3 separate regions of the Homo sapiens genome follow, and regions 2 and 3 are each linked to region 1. Evidence: promoter capture Hi-C in 16 types of primary human blood cells and fetal thymus (Javierre and others, 2016). All regions are on one chromosome and are shown on one strand. The core of a region is centred on a gene start or on the middle of the fragment in contact, and the rest is flanking DNA. Distances in the headings are between cores, read along the strand shown. Region 1 holds the start of DNASE2B (deoxyribonuclease 2 beta). Region 2 has its middle 19 kb from the start of SAMD13. Region 3 overlaps SAMD13 (sterile alpha motif domain containing 13).

What was found. The method cuts DNA at HindIII sites, captures the fragments that hold promoters and counts their contacts. A CHiCAGO score of 5 or more calls a contact.
Region 2: a fragment that was not itself captured here is called in contact with the fragment with the promoter of DNASE2B in region 1 in 1 of 17 cell types (M2 macrophages); the score reaches 7.5 in M2 macrophages.
Region 3: a contact is called between a fragment that was not itself captured here and the fragment with the promoter of DNASE2B in region 1, in 4 of 17 cell types (M0 macrophages, M1 macrophages, M2 macrophages and 1 more). The highest score is 8.3, in M0 macrophages.

What each region holds. Positions count from the first base shown.
Region 1 is chr1:84,395,744-84,400,475 of GRCh38, forward strand. DNASE2B (deoxyribonuclease 2 beta) reads left to right here and starts at 2,741. Exons shown (of 6, transcript NM_021233.3): 1 at 2,741-2,946. The coding sequence starts at 2,822. The HindIII fragment of the contact is 1,924 bases long and covers 1,605-3,528 here.
Region 2 is chr1:84,280,225-84,284,956 of GRCh38, forward strand. No RefSeq gene overlaps it. Among named protein-coding and RNA genes, the nearest start is that of SAMD13, 19 kb to the right of the region's middle. The HindIII fragment of the contact is 5,301 bases long and covers 1-4,732 here.
Region 3 is chr1:84,321,345-84,326,076 of GRCh38, forward strand. It overlaps SAMD13 (sterile alpha motif domain containing 13), which reads left to right. Exons shown (of 4, transcript NM_001134663.2): 3 at 4,293-4,404. Among named protein-coding and RNA genes, the nearest start is that of SAMD13, 22 kb to the left of the region's middle. The HindIII fragment of the contact is 645 bases long and covers 2,452-3,096 here.

The DNA.
Region 1 (4,732 bases), core at 1,491-3,990:
TCACTGTTTTTAGTAAAAACTGAAACAGACTGGACTCTAGGTTTTAGGTAATGTTGAAATCCCTGGAGATCTTCAGTGTCTGGTACAATATTAGACACAGTAGTGATGGCATAAGAAAGGTTGTTGACTGACAACCAGCATGATCAGGTTAGCAATAATGGGAGATAAGGAAGTTTATTGAAAGTGACATCTGAAAGAAACCAACCTAACAGTGTCTTCCCAGACCTTGAAATAAAATTGGATTTAGCAAATATCATTCTAATACAGATGTCCCCCAACCACCTTACAGGAAAAGCTCAGGTTGTAGTAAGAATAATCTTAGCTAACATTTATGAATCACTTACTATTACCAGGCACTGTGCTAAGTGTAATAAGGAGAAGAAAAAAGGAATGATTTTAAATCCTACTCAACAAACTGTCTTTAGCCCTACATAACTGAAAACAATTTGCTTACATTCTCTAAATGCATCAGTGAATCCTACTGGTATGTTTCTATTATTAGTTGTAATACCAAAAAGTCTCACAGGTAAATAAATAAGTAAATAAATAAAATTATTTTGGCCTGGTGCAGTGGCTCACACCAGTAATCCCAGCACTTTGGGAAGCTGAGGCGGGTAGATCATCTGAGGTCAGGAATTTGAGACCAGCCTGGCCAAAGGTGAAACCCCATCTCTACTAAAAATACAAAAATTAGCCGGGCCTGGTGGTGGGCACCTGTAATCCCAGCTACCCAGGAGGCTGAGGTGGGAGAACCACTTGAACGTGGGAGGTGGAGGTTGCAGTGAGCTGAGATTGCACCACCGCACTCCAGCCTGGGCGACACAGCAAGACTCTGTGTTTACTTTAACAGAGAAGAGTAATCTCTCTCTCTCTCTCTCTCTCTCTCTCTCTCTCTCTCTCTCTCTCTCTCAGTATACATACATACATACATACATACATATATATATATATTTGAGACAATCTCACTCTGTCACCCAGGCAAAAGTGCAGTGGTACCATCATGGCTCACTGCAGCCTCCACTTCCTGGGCTCAAGCAATCCTCCCACCTCAGCCTCCTGAACAGCTGGGACTACAGGCATGTGCCACTATGCCCGACTAATTTTTTTTTTATTGTTTGTAGAGATACATTCTTGCTATGTTGCCCCGGCTGGTCTTGAACTCCCAGGCTCAAGCAATCCTCCTGCCTTAGCCTCCCAAAGTTTTGGGATTACAGGCATAAGCCACTGCGTCCAGCTGATAATTTTTAAAAAAACTTTTAAAAATTGACAAAAAGGTTGGGGTTGTTGAAATCCTTTTTTCTGAACACAGGAAGAAAATATATAAAACAAAATGAGAACAGGCACAGTGGTTCATGCCTGTAATCCCAGCACTTTGGGAGGCCGAGGTGGATGGATTCCCAGGCCGAGGTGGGTACACTCCAGCCTGGGCAACAAGAGCAAAACTTCATCTCAAAATAATAATAATAATAATACCAATGGAGGAATGGGTAAGAAAAATATTTCTTCATTTAACCTGCAGAAAGCTGTGAATCTACCAAATACAGCATAGTCTTGGCCTCAGGGCAGTGAGTTTCAAACTTTAGGGTACACCAGCATCACCAATAAGCTTATTAAAAATATAGATTCTTGAGCCCAACTGGAAGAATTCTGATGTAGCAGGTTTGGAATAAGTCCTAGAATTCTGCCTTTTTTGCAGGCACCACAGGTAATTGGGCAGGTGGTACAGAGTCCTCCTCCCAAAACTCTGTCTTAGGATAGAGACACAAGCCTTCCCCTTTTCTATGAATCCTGAGAATTGTGAACAGTTCTAGTGCAACCACAGAGGTAATCTGATTTACAAGGGTTCAGTTTGGTCTGGATCCTCTGATCTGGAACTATTATAGTTATCATTGTGATTATCAGAGAGACAGATTAGGGGCAGCATTATTTCCAGGCATGATGTAAACTGCTATTTATTATGATGGCAGCTTTAATAATTGATGCAAAAGTATGCATTAAAGAAATTATTTTCATATGTCTATCTACTCCTTCCCTGATTCACAAAGAAATTGGTCTCACCTTTTTATAGTTGTTATGGTAGTGGGCCATTTTATTTTGGTTTTCTACTTCAGATTCAGCTTCGAGAATGAGAAAGCATAGTTTGGGCAAAATAGATGTTTGTAACATTTTTTATTAACCTGAAGAGTGGGTGATCAATATGTTTACCTATTGCATAGCAGCCTGAAGCACCACATTGAGTGGCTAAAACCAGGAAGATGGAGAGAATATGTAAACATCTTTGGTAAAATACAGTTAAATTTACTGTTACTTTGAAGCAACCCTTTGAAGTATCCCTTAGCAACTGGTTCCTTAAGACAGAGATTATTAAGTGACAGATCCTAATTATTACTAAGACATAAGGTTTTATCATTTCTGTTTAATGTACGAACCACCTGCATTTGCTCTCATTCATTGAGTCAAACAGGAGAAGACATGAAATATATTTAACATCTACTTATTAAAATGAAGTCCCCCTGCCCAATGAATTTCATACAACAATGTTCACTCCAAAGAGTGAACTATCTTTCCCTATTTTTCTGCAGAACTTTTTGATGACTTTGCAAACCAGTCAACAATTCAGCACAAAGGCATCCAGAGTCACGCTGGCATGTTGTGACAGAATCGCACAATTACATGGGATCCATCCCACTCTGAAAATGCCCCGAACAGCGAACAGCACAGGTAAATCAAATCAAACGTCAGAGCCAGCACAGCCTGAGAGCGCCTTGAAACTCAGACTCCACAATCTATGGGGAAAGTGTCCTGCTGTGGCATGAAATAAATGAAACAGAAAATGATGGCAAGACTGCTAAGAACATCCTTTGCTTTGCTCTTCCTTGGCCTCTTTGGGGTGCTGGGGGCAGCAACAATTTCATGCAGAAATGAAGAAGGGAAAGCTGTGGACTGGTAGGTAAATGAAATGGAAGGACTGCTGCATGCAAACAGCCTCGGTACAGAGTTGGCCTGGCTCACTGCGAAGTTCCTAAGGGGAATGTCCATTCTCTTTCCTCCCTTTACAAATAAAGGAAGTTAAAGTGTGCAAATCGGCCAAACTCCCAGGCAGGGGTAGGCTTCTGAGTGACGGAGTTTCCCCCTGAAAAAGAGCTGAGCAGCCCCTCTTGGGCCTGATTCACTGTTCTCAGCGGGGCAAGGCTGGTAGCCACAGAAGTGGGATTGAGCTGACAGCTTCTGTGAGCTGGCAATTTCTTTTAATTACATCATGGCTTTTCCTAACAGAACACTTCCAACATCCTTTGAAAGACTGACAGAGTAAAGAAGGCAGATTATTTTTTTCTGAAAATGGAGCATGTGCTGCTCCTTATGAGAAAGAGAAGGGGGACCTGGTCACACACAGCACTGTTTGCCTAACATCGGTTTGTTTGGAAGCAGAGGCAGCTGTTGCCATGATTGGTACGTAGGCCACTGGCCTGTTGTACAGTGTCAAAGACATTAAATGCTGTGTTGCATTATAGTCATGGGTTCTCCTAAAGCTTTAACTACTTTTTCACCCTTTAATTGGGATATTTAGGTTTGCCATAATGGTTGGTGTCAAGCTTTTTGTGTAAACTTCAGGCTACAGAACACAGATATACTCAAGGCAGTAGTCAGTCTTTCCTCAGTTACTGAGCTCAACAGAGGTCTGTGTGGAGTTTTGAAAATATAAATATGAACGAAACATGGTTCCTACCCTCAAGGACCTCACAGTTATGTGGTAAGGGCATAGGTGGAACACTGGGGAACAGAGAGCCCAGAAAACTTCTCTAAGGATGTAATTTTTGAGCTAAGTTTTAAGAACAATTAAGAAGTAGCTGGAAAAAGAAGGGATGTGCAAGAGCATCTCAGGCCAATGAAGGAGCAATGAGGAGGTAGAGAGGCAAGAAGCAACATGGAAATTTGGGAGTTGCAAAGTAGTTTGGTATTGCTGGAACTTCAGGAGAATACAGGAAGATGACCGGAGGTGAGGTTAGAGAGGTGGGGACAGCCAAGGGGTCTGTGTGCTGAGCTACAAGGTTTGAACTTGACATTGAAAGGGAGCTATTGGAGGACTTCACGCAGGGGTGTGAATGGTCAGATTTGCACTTTAGGAAACCCATTGGCAGTACTATGAGGGCTGGATGGATGGGGAGCAGCCTAGAATCACTGAGACCAGGAGCACTTTTGCAGCATTACAGGTGAGAAGAGGTGTAGACCTGAGTTAAAGAAGCGGTCATGGAAATAGAAAGAAGGACATGCTGAGAAGACTTGGTGATGGATGGGCTGCAGCCAGTAGGAGAAAGGGAGATGTTAAGAAATAATTTTAGGTTGGCCAGGCGTGGTGGCTCACGCCTGTAAGCCCAGCACTTTAGGAGGCCTAGGCAGACAGATCACCTGAGGTCAGGAGTTCAAGACCAGCCTGACCAACATGGAGAAACCCCATCTTTACTAAAAATACAAAATTAGCCAGGCATGGTGACGCATGCCTGTAATCCCAGCTACATGGGAGGCTGAGGCAGGAGAATTGCTTGAACCCAGGAGGCGGAGGTTGTGGTGAACCAAGATCGTGCCATTGCACTCCAGCCTGAATAACAAGAATGAGACTCCGTCTCAAAAAAAAACAAAAAACAAAACAAGAAAGAAAAAGAAAGAAATAATTTTAGGCTTCTGCTTCTGAGACTGCATGAATATGTTCCCTAATAGTGTGGGATGAGCAGAT
Region 2 (4,732 bases), core at 1,232-3,731, 120 kb before region 1:
CAACCATTCATATTAGCATGTGTTTGTTCTCTATTAATCTGTAATTTAGCAAATTGTATCCATTTGATTTTCTAAAGTTAGACCGTCCTGTGTTCCGAGAGTAAACTCAATTTGTTTAAATAATGTATTTAATCATAATATGTTATCTTCTGTGCATTGCTGGATTACATTTTTATACTTTTTTGCAGAGTTTTGCTTCTACATTCATGAGTGAAGTTGGTTTGTCATTTTTTACCTCTTGTATCATCCTTCTATAGTGTGCTATATATAATACATATTTTTTCCATGGAATGAGGCCATTATATTTTTTATTGGGGTGTTTTTCCTTGTTTCAAGTTTTTGAAAGCGTGCCTTACATTGGAATTATGTTTTTTAGGTGTTTATTAATAGTCACCTATAAAGTCATCTGGGCCAGGTCTTTGTGTAAGATTTTAAAGTTGGTGAACCAATTTCTTTAAGGACTTTACAATGACTCTGAATTTCTATTTCTTCCCGAGTTTGTTTTGGTAACTTACTTTTTTTTCTAATAATTTGACCATTTTGTCTAAATCTTCAAATGTGATACCAAGTTGTTTGTACTAGTTTACCATTTTTTTACTTCTCTGAATTTTTTTAATTCCTAACATTTTTGTTGTCATCTTTGTCTTCTTCTTCCTCCTCTTCCTCCTTCCTCTTTCTCCTTTCTTTTAGTTCAACCAGGCCAGATCAATGAATTTTACTCACTTCTTCAAAAACCTTAATTTTGGCATTGTTGATCTTTTTTATTTTATACTTTTTTCTATTACATTAATTTCTAGGCTTATCCTTATTATTTTCTTTCTTCTGCTCTCTTTAAATTAATTCTATTTTGTAAAATAATTTCTCATGAATGCTTAGCTCAGCAATATTCAGCCTTTCTCAGTTTCTAGTATAAGCATTTATGACTTAAAATTCCCTCCAAGCCTCTTTTAACCATTTGTTTTAGTGAAGTTGGTAAAGTGGATTTTATTATTGTTTGATCCTAAACATTTTCTATTTTGCATTATGATTTACTCCTTGATTGATGAGTTATTCAAAAGTTTCTGAATTTTCTAAATTTTTAAAACATAACCTTTTAGCTAAAGATATCTTTATTAATTGAATTGTGGTCAAAAATATAATGTGTTTAAGATGAGTTTCTTAAAAGTGGTTGAGACTTGATTTATAGCCTAATTCATGATAAATTATTGTAGTGTTTCTTGCATAACCAAAACTAATTTGTATACCTTAATTTGGAGTGTAGAAATATATATGTTCAGTAGATTAGCTTTCTGTATTGCTTAAATTAATCATATCCTTAATGCTTTAGTTCCATTTTACCTATCAATTATTGAGATATATATATTTAATGACTCACAATAGTGGAGAATTCAACAGTATCTCCTTGTAAGTATGTCAAATTCCCCTTTATCTTATTGAAGTTAGGTTATCAAGTTTTAAACTTTAGAATTTTTTCCACCTGGGGAGTTAAACCTCTTATCATTATTAAATAATCTCTTTTGTCTATCATAAGGTTTTTTTGCCATAAAATCTATTTTACATTTTATATATATAGACATTCCAACTCTTTTTTCTTAATATTTGCTTAAAATATATTTTTCTATTCTTTTACTTTCAACTATTCTTTCTCAATGTCTTAGGTATGTCTCTTATAGAAAGCACAAACATAGATTTTGTTTCTTTTATCCAATAGATTTTGTTTTTTTTAATCCAATCTCACAGCTTCCCTTTCAACTGGGTTTATTTCATTGATAAATTTACTCCTGTCATCAGTTTTTTAACTTTCTATTTTTTCTGGCTTTCCTGTTTCTTTTTTCTCCTTCTTGCCTCTTTTCAATTGATTAAATTAATTTTTTCTTTTTTTTTTCGAAATGGAGTTTCTCTCTTGTCGTCCAGGCTAGGGTGCAATGGCGTGATCTTGACTCATTGCAACCTCCGCCCCCTGGATTCAAACAATTCTCCTGTTTCAGCCTCCCGAGTAACTGGGACTAGAGGCACGCCCGTCACCATAATACCCGGCTAACTTTTTTTGTATTTTTAATAGAGATGCGGCTTCACAATGTTGGCCAGGCTGGTCTTGAACTCTTGACCTCAGGTGATCCGCCCACCTTGGCCTCTCAAAGTGCTGGGACTACGGGTGTGAGACACCGCGCCGCCCGGCAGATTAAATTTCTTAAGTCCCAACTTTCCCCCTCTAGTTTTGAAGGTATAGGCTTTACTTCTCTTCTGTTAAGCAGTTCCTTTGAAATCAGAACATGGATACTTAAACCTAACAAACTCTACATTTACAATCTTTATAATCTTCCCAAATATGCAAAGAGCTAAGAATGTTTTAATGCCTATCAGCACTTCCACTTTACCAGCTATTATTTCTGAACCCCACAAGTTACGCTTCATTATTTATTTATATGGTTTTCACCAGCAGTATGTTTACCCAACAGTTTGTCTTTTACTTTACTCAGTGTGTTTTTTGTATCTCAGACTTTCCTTTTCAGATCATTTTCCTTCTGCTTGAAGACATGCTAAGAAGTTCCATTATTAAGAGTTTTTTAATGTTAAACTTTTTAAGTGTTTATCTAAACAGCCTCTATTTCATCCCCATGTTGAAAAATAGTTGTGGCAGAGAAAGTCAGTATTACTGAATATCCATGTGATTATATTTCCCACTCTCCCTTGCAGTTAGTTTGGGACCTTGTGACTTATTCTGGCCAATGAACTATGACTAGAAGTGATAGGTTTCACTACTAGACAAAGACAGCTGGGACCTGTGCTCCTGCGCATCCCCTTTCCCTTCTGCAGTGATCTCACATGTCCCTACAGCCCTGGATGTTGGAGTTACAGAGGGCAGCACTCTCTCAGCCTGAGTCCCTAGTAATGGTGTGAGCAGAGCTCCATACAACCCATGCTGGATGTGTAACTTGAAATGTTTCAGAGTTAATTGTTGATTGATGTGAGAGGCCACAGAGGTTTCAGAGTTAATTTTTTACCAAAGCATAATGTAACATATTGTGACCAATAATTTTAATGGGTAAATAATTCTATTTGAGAGTTACTCTCTCAATACATTAAAAATATTTTCCCACAATCTTCTGTCTTCTTATGTTTTTGTTGCTGAGAAGTCAACTATCTAATTTCCATTCCTTTATTGGTAATTTTATTTTCTCTTCAGTTAATTTTAATGTCATCTTTGTCTTTGGCATTCTGAAGTTTTCTAACAATGTGTTTGGGGTGTGTGTGTGCATGTGTGTGTGTGTGTGTGTGTGTGTGTCTCTGTGTGTGTGTCTCAATTTATCTGTCTTACTAGGAATCTTTTGGGGTTTTGGAATTTGAGGTTATCTTTCATCAATTCTAAGAATGTCTCATTCATTGTCTCTTCAGTTATTGCCTCATCCTCTCCTCTGTTATTGCCTCTTAAAAAACTTTGGTTACAGACATTGAAGCGTTTCACTCTATCCTCCAAGTCCCTCAGCCTCTCTGTCATATTTTCCAGCTTCTGTCTCCTTGTGCTGCATTCTGTGTAAGGTCTTCCAGTCTATAATTGCCACTCTCTAATTCTCTCTTCGGCTGTGGTCTTGTCTACTGTTAATTCTTCCACTGAGTTTTTAATTCCAATCTGTTTATTTTTTATTTATAAGTTCTATTTTGTTCTTTTTCAGATATGATAGACATTTTTATGGTCTTTTTCTTCTTCCTTGCATTTATATTTCTATTATATATTTTACTTTTAAATTTATCCTTGCATTTAAAAGATTTATATATTTTATTACTCATGTTAAGTTCTTCAGAGTAGGAGAAGTCCCCTCTCTATATTTTTACTTGTATTTTTATTATTTCAGATTGTTTATACCTTGGGATATAAGGAACATATCCCTCGGTCCTTCCCTGTCCCTAGATGCCTGATTCCTTTAGGATACCCACTATTTTAAGTAAACCAATATCACCTTATATTTGCTGTTTAATATATCTTTCCCTTGTCAGTGAGCTTGTCTTCAACTGGTCATCCTTCTACAAAAAACTTCATTATTTTAATTCAGAAGGTTTATGATTCTTTCTAATGCTCAGAGACCTGCCCCTCTTTCCATATTTCTAGACTGCTGCTGTATTTTGGAGAATGTCCAAAAGTTTGACCTTTGGATAAAGGGATGAGGCTGTACAAATTTTGCTTCTTAATACCATCTGCCTAGGAATAAAAACCTCTAGATAGGAAGAAATAAAGGAAGGAAGAAAAGAAGACAACTTTTGGAAAAATCTGTAAATCTAAGAGGGCATGGAATACAGGACATATCCTGTATTCCAGTGATGACTTTTCAATGACTAGCGGTGGTTTCCACAGAGAATTCGGTTTCCTTATCCATACTTTGCTATAAATCTTGGCATATCAACTACCTAAAATTATCATGCATTTCTAACCGATTTATAGCTAATAATATATGTCACTCCAATTCTTATAGTAAGTATAGGTATCACCCATTTTGTAAACTTTCTAAACTAAATCATCTCAGTAATGTTCATTTATTACATATGATAAAACAGATCCCACACTGAGGAAGAAGAAAAGAAAGAAGAAGAAGAAGGAGGGGAAGGAGGGGAAGGAGAAGAAGGAGAAGAAGTCAGAAGAAGAAGAAGGAGGAGGAGGAAGAGGAGGAGGAGGAAGAAGAGGAAGAAGAAGAAGAAGAAGAGGAAGAAGAAGCAGCAGCAATAACCCTGGACTTGT
Region 3 (4,732 bases), core at 1,524-4,023, 74 kb before region 1:
TAATAATAAAGCTATATATAAATATATATATTAAAGATTCTGTGCCTGGAAAATGCTCATACATTTATCATATTAACATGTATTATATTCTAAGAAACATTTTGCTATGACGTTAGTGAATAATAAATATCAAATGAAAGGGGCACTTTTGTATTTGCCATTTCATTTTATCAATGCAAAATTAGCAGCCACAATGGAACCACCACCTGTCAGGTATTTTAAACAGTGACATTTAAATTCCCTCTGGAATTTGATATGCATAGGTCATAAGAAAAGATGTGGCGAGAATGGACCATTTATAAGGAAATAACTAAAGCTAAGTGTCTCAATTTGGACAAAATATCAGTCCTTGGGGAGACATATTGTATTCCTAGCAGAGAATGGTGCTGCTTAAATCTATCCTCCAGTATCTTCCCATGTCAAATGTTATCTGGCTTTGGCCCTCTGGCTCCTGCCCCGCACACCCTTCCACTTGGCTTACGCTTGTTATGTTATTTTGGATCATCACCAGCTTTCTCCTTAAAACTGTTGCTGAAACCACTGGAAGAGCCCAGTGAAATCATCCATCGTGCATTAACACGAGCAACCTAGAAGTGATGGTTTATGCCCGTGGAGACGTGCCTCTGCAAGCCATCCCCACTCTGGGGCCCCGCTCAGAGAGTGTTGAGGGCAATAAATGCCTTTTTAAACTGCCATTGAAAATCTTCAAGTGTTCTAGGCAGGCGGAACTAACCAGCCCTCCCTTACGTAAATACGTCCTCAACAGCACTTTGTTCACCCCTCGATTCGAATATTCCTCAGAGCTAGCTGTTTCCACATCTGGTTTCCCTCACCAGATTGCCGGCTCCTTGAGGGCAGGGACTATGCATTCCCTGTCCTTGTAACCCTGCATCTAGCATAATACTGAGAAGACAGGCTTTTAATAAATATCTGTTGTGTCAATGAATAAGTATAGTGGAAAAAAAGCAGAGACTTGGAGGCAAGCATATCCGGAATCCAATCCTAGCTTTATCTACCATGCTATTTGGGGTGTGTTTCTTAACCTTTCTGAGCCTTCGTTTCCCAAAAGCAGGTTACAGTAGCCAGTTCACAAAGAGGTGGGAGGCTGATACTGAGTAACGTGTGAAAAACAGATTTTAAGTTGTAAGTGCTCTCTGGTTGTTAGTCCATTGTAATACTTTGCTGTGTATCAACTGTGCACCAGTCAGACTGTGCTAGGTGCTGGTGCTACAAAGATGAAGATAGGTTTTTCTTCTCAGGATATCGATAGTCTAATGTGATTTTTTTCCTGGTTATTTTGGCTTTGGGGGGATATCAGGCTTTTAAACTTAGGTAGATCAATCATTAAATGTATTGGTTGGTTTCTAACCCCTTGTTTCTTCTGGGTGAATTCCCTTACCCTCCATATGAAAGAGTGCCCCGTTCCACGTTGCTGCTATTCATGGTACACTGCCAGCAGTTTTACAAGTCTTTCTTCTCTGTGGCATTGCTATACTCAAGAATATTTCAAAATTATGGAAGTCATGATGTTATATCCCACTAGAATAAAAATCAGGAAAGCCTCCCATCTTAAAATTACAATGTAGCTTATTTTGTTATTACAATTGAATATTCTTTTTAAAATGTTTTATTTTAGGTTTGGGGGTACATGTGAAGGTCTGATAACTATTCTTGGTGAGGAAAGGCGACTAACTGAAGTCAACCACAGGGAGATTGAATTCAGATGTTTTCTGGGGGCACTTAAAAGTGTGTTCGATGGGACTCTGTGTTCACTACCAGAAGTGAGCTAATTAGAAAACTGAAAAGATTTGTTGGAACAATGAACTCCTTTCTGAACATTCTTCAAGGACACCTTAAGAGAGAGGGAAGGAAAATGGTAGCTTGAAGAGGGTCCTCAGTGCCAGTTGCTGATTGCTTATGTTGCTAGTGTATGGAAAATTCCAGCACATAGATAATTTTTTTTAAAATTTACTATTGATTTAAAAACACATAGTTAATATTTAGTAACATTAGGGTGAAAAATAGTTTTCTTCTCGATGTATATTGCCTGTTAAATGGTAGGAAGATTGTGTGTGTGCATGTGTGCATATGGGTATGTGTGTATACAGGCATGCAGTGGTTATAGATTCACCATCTTTAAGCCCAAAAGAGAAGACATTTAGAGTATTGGCTTTAGGTGTTTTTAAATTAGGTGCTGTTGAGAAATTAACGATCACATGTGCCATCGATCAGTGACTCCCTTTAACTAGTACAGAAGTTGGTTTGGTTTTCTTAAATCAAATATTTTAGGTTCCTGCTATGGGCAAAACATTATGCTGGGGGATGAGGTGGCTGGATCCTTGACTCTTAGACCTTTAAAGACCTTCAGAAATCTCTCCAAATCTAGCCAATTTTGTTTCCACTAAAAGTAACCTGGATGTTTTCAACTTCCACTAAATATTGAACCTCTCAAGCTTAGTTCTAGGCCCAGCTCTCTTCTCCTCCTCTCTCAAGATTTCAGTTACTGTCTAAATGCCTCTGTCTCCCACAGGTGTACCTAGCCCACTCTTCTGCTTTGTGCTGTAGACTTATAGCCCACATTAAATCTCCACTTGGATATAGACAGTACACCAAATTTAGCATGTTTAGCTGGATGGATGTTACCACCATCCATCCAATTCCATGACACTTCTACTCCCTCCATTCTCTATGTCTGGTCTAGCACTAAGTTACACTGATTTTATTCATTAACTCTCTTTTAAATCCACACACTCCTCTTGTTTTTCACATACACCACCCTAGTCTACGCATGATCTCTGGGTTGCATGACTGCAATAGACTTCTCACTGGCTTCTTCCCCACTGGCTCCTCTCCAGCATCCTCTTTTTCAAAATGTGAATCTGATCAGGTCACCCCCTTTACATAGGACCATTCAACAGCTCCTCATTGCTCTTAGCAAAAATCCAGAATCCTCAGTGTGGCCTCCAAGACCTGCATGGCTCCCTTGGCTGTATGTGTTTCTGTCACAGGGCCTGGAATATTCTTCATGTGACTTCTTCATACAGTTAATTTCTGGCTGTCTTTTAGATCGTACCTGAAAAGAAACTCCCACGGGAAAGCTTCCCCTATCCCTTTAACTATCATAGTAAATGATGCTTGTCCTTCTTAGCATTTAGCATAACTTGCCGCTGTACATTTACTTGTATGATTATTGATCAGTGTCTACTCCCCACAGGACTGTAAGGCCCGTAAGAATAAGGGTGGTGTCTGTTTTGCTCTCCAGTGTATTCCTAGTTGGAGAGAGGAGAGGCTTTGTCCTGAGGGACCTCCAAAGCAAAGTTAGGCTATGTGATTGGATGTACACTCTGGGAAAATCATCTTGGATGAGGTATAGAGAAAGCCAGACAAATACTCCCAACGCAGAAATGAGGCAGAGTCCCAGTAACTGCAGGTCATTACCAGTCTTTCTTTATTCTACTTCTCCTTTCCCTCCTCTCTGAATCCAATGAGGAGCATTACCCATAGACCCACTCAGACAAATGCTTGATTGTTATCTTGTCATCTGTTTATTTATTTGAACAATATGGGTTAAGTTCCTAAGTACACACTTGATACTAGGAATAATAAAATGAGAAGTGGTCCGGGCTCAAATGCATTTCTCCAACCTGCATCTCCCACTCTAGTGGGAGAGACTGTTCAATAAACAGAGGGTATAATTCAGTGTGGAAGGTGCTACAATGGGAGTTTGAATGAAGTTCTAGAAGTCAAAGGAGGTTATGACTAAAACACACCCTTGGAAGAGCCAGAAAAAATGCTTCAAAGAGGAGGTAGTTTTGTATTGGTAGAAATGGTAGAGTTTTGTCCAATAGAGACAGGTGTGGGGGCATTGTAAGTGGCTGGGACAGAATGTGCAGAGGCTCAGATCTATGAAAGGACTTGGCCTATTGTGGAAGGGCTTTATCCCTAGATGTGTGGGGATGGGGCTAGGGAAGGTGTTAGGAAGACAGGAAGAGAGAGCGGTATGTTGAGGTCATATCGTAAAAGGCCAGGTGTTCTGAACTCAGAAGTATGAATATCATACTCTGGGCTGCCAGCAGTCACTGGACCACTCTCAATGTCTCTGGATTAAAAACCAGAGGAAATAATTTACATTAAATGTCAAATGGTTTATTAGCAGTGACTAAGCCAGTGAGAGTAATCATCATCTGAACCCAAAAAACATGAAAGGCCTGTCCCAGAAGACCCATTTGTGAGCCTGGCCACACCCTTGTGCAGGCACTGCCATGACAACTGTCTGGATTTGTGTTTTGCAGTTCCATGGAAAATGGGAGACCACCTGATCCTGCAGACTGGGCCGTGATGGATGTCGTCAATTATTTCCGAACCGTGGGATTTGAGGAGCAAGCTAGTGCTTTTCAGGAACAGGTAACTTGGTCTAGAGAAACACGTGATGAACATGTGATGAACCCACAGTTACCTCCCTTCCCAACAGTGGGCAGAAGGGAGTGAGGAGGAAGAGGACCAAAGAGCAGGGAGGAATCAGTGAGGCTCTGAGAAACTGAGGGGAAGGAGAATGGATGTACCAGGTGAATTATCCCTTTGTGCAAGGGGAAAACTCAAAGCCGGAGACAGTGGCAGCTGTGGAGAAGAAGGCTAAAGCTCATTTACATCTGTGTCCTCTGAAAGACTGATCATACTCAAGGGTGGAGTGAATCAGCCCTACCTTCAATGAAAACACACTAGAAAGCAGGAA